2 separate regions of the Homo sapiens genome follow, and region 1 is linked to region 2. The links are contacts of gene promoters, found by promoter capture Hi-C in human tissues and cell types (Jung and others, 2019). All regions are on one chromosome and are shown on one strand. The core of a region is centred on a gene start or on the middle of the fragment in contact, and the rest is flanking DNA. Distances in the headings are between cores, read along the strand shown.

Region 1 (2,748 bases), core at 243-2,742, 170 kb after region 2:
GTGGAGTCTGGGGAGATAGACAATAAACATAATCGATAAAATATCTTAGTATCTTAGTATGTCAGTTGGTGATCCCTGCCATGGAGGAAAACAGAGAAGGGGAAGAGAAAGGGGTGATAGTTTTTTTGTTTTTTTGAGATAGGGTCTCACTTTGTCACCCAGGCTGGATTGCAGTGATGTGATTATACCTCACTACAGCTTCAAACTCCTGGGCTCAAGCGATCTTCCTGCCTCAGCCTCCCAAGTAGCTGGGACTATAGGTGTGCGCCACCATCTTTGGCTAATTTTTTAAATAGTTTGTAATGATGGTGTCTTGTTATGTTGCATGGGTTGGTCTTGAACTCCTGGGCTCAAGTGATCTTCCCACCTCAGCCTCCCAAAGTGCTGGGATTACAGGCATGAACTACCGTACCTGGCTGGGTGATAATTTTAAATAGGTTGGTCAGGGCAGGTGGAAATGACAGGGTCCAGTTGAGCAAAGACCTGAGCAAGGTGACAGTGACAGCGACAGCCATGCAGATAATCTGTGGAAAGAGATTTTCAGGCCACAGGGAATAGCCAGTGCAAGACCCTGGGGCCCGTGGGGCTGGAGTAAAGGTGAAATCAGAGAGATAGCAAGGGGCCACCTCCTGTAGATCCTCATAGACAGGGGGTTCTCAAGCCCCAGCATACATCAGAATCCCCTGGGAGCTTATTTAAAATGCAGATTTCTGGGCTTCACCACCTCTGACCAGGAGGTCCAAGGTAGGGCCCAGACATGGACGTTTCTGTCAAGATCCCAGGGAATGCTGATGCTGCTGCTCCGGGAACACTCTTTGAGAATCACTGTTGTAGGCCCTTGGAATGACTTTTGTTTTTTGCTCTTGAAATGGGGGAGCTGTTGGAGGACTTTACACAGAGAGACAGGATCTGACCTGGGATTTAACAAGATCTCTCTGGCAGCTGTATGGGGCCTGGACAAAGGCAGGAAGACTTCCAGTGAGAAGCCGGCCCATGGTGGCTTGGACCAGTCACAGTGGTCCGGGGGCCCAGATGAGGTCTGAGCAGAGTGGGGTGGGCATAAGGATTTGACCGTGTGCCAGGCTTGCCCATGCGTGCAAAAGGCTGTGTTTGCCATACACAGAGTCATTCATATTAAGTATCTTCCTAAAGGATATCCTCTACCGGCCCTGTGAGGCTGGGTTTTATAGCCCCGCTTATCAGAAGGGAACGCTGGGCTCTTCTGGACAAGAACAGTAGGCCCAGGATATATTTGGAGATAGACTGGACCAGATGTAGGTGGGTGAGGGCAATGGGAAGAATCAAGGATGACTTTTGCGTCTCCTCCAGAGGGAGCAGCAGGGAGATGGAGGAGCTGATGTAGGCTGACTGCCTCTTGGTGATCCCAGGTGATCTTATTTGTATATATGTATATATAAACCATGGAGTAGATGACGTGGTACAGACTGGATGCAGTATTAGGTGTGGAGATTATGTATGCAGCGATTAGGTGTGGAGGCTCTGGAGCCTGACCACCAGGGTCAAATGTAGCCATGTGATTTTGGACCACTTCTCTAATCTCCCCATGCCTCCGTTTCCCCACCTCAAACTTGGAGATGGCAATCCTAAGTTTGCCAGCCTTCTCTAACACTCACTACGTGCTAGGAGCCATTCTACACACTTAGTGACACCATCTCATACAATCATTAAACGATGCCATGGAAGAGTGGGGATGAGGATGCTTTCATGGTTGTATGGCGTCTCATCCTCCCGCTAATTCTGTGATACAGACACTGCTGTCATCCTCATTTGATGAATGAGGAAACTGAGGATCAGGAAGGTGAAGTCACTTGGCCAAGGTCGCATGGGGAGGAGGGCTTGTGATTGATACTCAGATCTGAGACAGGTGTGCTCAAGACGGAAGCACCAGGACTCAGACCCAGATGATCTGAACCAGGGTCAGAGCTCCTGACGATATGCAACTCCTCTGGGGGAGACTTTACAACACCCACCCATGCCGCCTTATGGCCCGCTTGCTATAACCCAGGCCACTTGGCCTGTTCGGAACATTTCACTCCACTTATACTCCCCTGGTGGAGTATAAGCCCACCCGGCCACCATGGCTTACTTGGTATATCCCACGCTCACCCTGCCCATGAGTCATTTGATTTGGCACATAGAAATTCTTTGGATGACTCCTCCAACATCCTGGCCTCTCATTTGTGCACCCCAGTCTGACCACATGCTCCTGATCATCCTGCCATCTTGAGACCACACTCCTGCTCTGTGGCCAAGGAGAGACCACTGGGTCCTCATTTGGAACCCACTTCTGGGCATCAGTGCTTCCTCTCTCCAAGTGTATATCCAGTGATCATTGTTTTAGGCACTTTCTTGCCAATATCCTCAGTTCCCTCCCTTTTTGTATGGCTTTAATCACAGAGGACGCTTTCCCCTGTCCCTGCAATGGCTTTAAGCCCGTAGGAAGTTTAGCTCTCCTATATAAAGTAAGTCTTGTGGTAGGCACTTAAGGCTAATATGGCACCTCCATTTCTTGGGGATCCAAGCTCCTTCAAGACTTAATATCCCAGGGAGTAGCCCTTGTCCTCATGGTCCCGTGTGGCTGCTAGAGCTCCAACCATCAAAACAAATTTTCAGGCAGCAGGATGGATGAGGGGAACAATAAGATGGCACCACCTTCTCTGTCTTTGTTTTTTAGAGACAGGGTCTTGCTCTATTGCCCAGGCTGGGTGGAGGGCAGTGGTGCAATCA
Region 2 (2,746 bases), core at 1-2,500:
GACTGGCTGGTTCCTACCTGCGCTGTTTCCTTGGAAGATGCTGATGGCCACTTTCTGTGGAGCATCTGGGGTGGAAAGAGGTGGCCGCCTCAACATCCCTGAGGAGGGATGGTAGGCATGGGGCCTTCCCCTCAGGAGCCATGAAAACAGGGAAAGGGGCTCTCCTCTTTGGCAACCAGGTCCCCAACTTTAAGCTCTGGCTCAGCCCTGCCCTGTCCCCCCACACCCTCAGGGACCCGGGCGTCCTGGCCCAGCACTCACAGGAGACATTGAGCTGGATGGTTCTCTCCATGGTCACACCGGCTCCAGGGAACGTCACCTGACAGGTGAGGTTGGTGCTGTGGTCCTGGGGCCGTGGGGTGATTGTGAGCACCGAGGACTGGGTGGTCCTGGGGCCCAGGGAGGTGGGGGCAGCTGACATCCAGGAGAAGATGGGGGGCGTCCCCTGCTCACAGACCCAGGGCACAGAGCAGGTCAGATTGCTGGGATGGCCAGACTCCAGGGTCCCTGGGATGGAGATGTTGGGCCTGTGGGTCAGGGCTGGTGAGGAGATGGGGACGCAGGATCAGGATGGAGGTCTGAGGTTTCACCCAGGGGGAAGCCCAGTCTCTGGTCCAGCTCCTTCTCTGAGCCCAACATGCTTAATTGTACCCGCCTCCCAAGACGGGGCTCCCGTCCCAGCCCTGCCCTACGGCCCCCATGACCTTCCCCTGTGGCTAGTCCTGGAGCTGGTTCCTTACCCATCACACGCACAGAGAGCTTGGAAGATGTATAACCGTATTTCATCCATTTGGACTTCAACCGAAAGAAGTATGCAGCATTGTCCCTCCTCCGGGCATCTCTGATGCTCAGGGAGCAGTTCTTCCTTCTGGGATCCCAGAGGAGGTGGAATCGGCCCCGGGTCTCCTCCTGCACTTCTTCGTCTGGGTCGTTTGTGGCCACTGGAACATCAGCCCCTTCCAGGAACCAGTAGCCATAACCATAGTACGAGGCTGGAAGGGTAGTGGGCAATCTGCAGGGTACGAGGACGCACAGACCCTCCTGCACCGTCAGTGACTCTGGCCCCTCCAGCTGGAATCTCCGCTCCTGAGCCAGGGCCCCTATGGAGACATGAGGGTCAGCTCGGCCCAGCCCCACGGCACCTCTCCCCTGGCCCACTCACCTGCCCACAGCAGGGGCAGCAGCAGCGGTAGCATCTCTGAGGCGGAGGCTTCCTGGGCTCCCTGCATGAGCAGAGAAGGGGAAGGGAGTGGAGGGGAAGGACTGCGGGGAGGAACGGGTGGCTGGGGAGGAGCGCGTGATCTCGGCTGTTCACAGAAGAGGAACTGCGAAGCCACAAGCCCTCGGAGCTCCACTCCCTCTGCACAGAGCAGACGGAAACTTTGAGACCCAGAGACCTGCCCAAAGAAGAGCAGAGGAGAAGAGACTGTGTCCCGCCTCCCACCTCGGGGCTTCCTGTGAGCAACAGAGCCCGGACCAGGGCCTCCCGGGGCATCTGAGGAATGCGAAACCTGTGTCCAAGGCCCTGCCCACCTGAGGTGCTTTTCTGTGCACCACTGTTTACACCTGGGAGCTGGTCACTCCTGGCCCCAGAGAGTCACAGCCTCATCCCACGCCATGAGAAAGTCAGTCCTGCAGGATATAGGATTCTGTAGGGTCTGTGGGAGTGTCTGGGACAGTGAAAGGAAGAAGGGTCCCAGGTGCAGTGTGGGTGATAGCCACTCATTCATTCACTCATTCATTCATTCATTCATTCATTCACCAAAGACATAGTGAGCATCTGTATGTAGGTCGGGCTGGAGAAGAGATGCCAGGGACCTGGTCCCTACCCTTGAGATGATCCCCATCCATAGCTTCCCATCCTCAGCACACACCCTCACTATCTAGCTTTAGAGCTGTGGACACTGGTGAGTTTGCCAAGTGACACAGTAGAATGCCAGATATTTTTTAAAACATGAGTATGGAGGTTTTTCCTTGACAGCTAGTACGCTGATTTACAAAATTTCAATGACATCTCCAAAATAAGAACCATGCAACATCTTCATGTAAATCAAAAAGGACACATATTTTATGAACTGCAGTGCAGAAGAAACTTCTTTTGAATTAATGTTGCCACTCAGTGCAGTGTGGACTGGAGAGATTTTTTTTTAGGTCCTCATCATAGAGATTAGCAATTTCTTTCCTGTGAAAAATCTGCTTCTCACAGTTAAATGTGGCACAAAAGACATATTTCTGGACAACGTGAGCAGAATATCCTGACAAAATTAAAATTTTTAGGTCTAGCTCACATGGTTTTCTATTTTCCTCTGTGCAGTATGCATCTGGCAAATCTCTAATACCTATGAGGTATTAGAATTTGCCACCATATATTTGTAAATTTTTTTATTTCTACAAACTTAAGGAGTAGATGTAAAATTTTTTTGCATGTATATAATGCGTAATGATTATGTCAGGATATTTAGAGTGTCCGTCACGTGAGTGCAATACATTCTTGTTAACTAAAATCACACTATTCTGCTCTCTAACGCTGAATTTATTCCTTTTAACTGTATGTTTGTAGCACTTCACTCACTTCTCTTCATCTTCTGTCCTCCCCCATCTGACCCTTTCCAGTCTCTGTTGTCTATCTTTCTACTGTCCACCTCCATGTGATAATATTTTTTTAGCTCCCACATGTAAGTGAGAACATGCAACATTTGTCTTTTTGTGTCTGACTTATTTCAATTTAGATAATGAATTCTAGTCC

The links. Contacts are between HindIII fragments. The study calls those that stand out against the background at their distance.
Region 1: a fragment that was not itself captured here is called in contact with the fragment with the promoter of SIGLEC6 in region 2 in 1 of the 25 tissues and cell types used here (spleen).

Annotation. Positions count from the first base shown.
Region 1 is chr19:51,696,331-51,699,078 of GRCh38, forward strand. All of the region lies in intron 2 of SPACA6 (sperm acrosome associated 6), which reads left to right. Among named protein-coding and RNA genes, the nearest start is that of SPACA6-AS1, 4.2 kb to the left of the region's middle. The HindIII fragment of the contact is 6,273 bases long and covers 1-2,748 here.
Region 2 is chr19:51,530,420-51,533,165 of GRCh38, forward strand. It overlaps SIGLEC6 (sialic acid binding Ig like lectin 6), which reads right to left and starts at 1,251. Exons shown (of 8, transcript NM_001245.7): 1 at 1,163-1,251; 2 at 741-1,100; 3 at 262-540; 4 at 18-65. The coding sequence starts at 1,229. The HindIII fragment of the contact is 9,007 bases long and covers 1-2,746 here.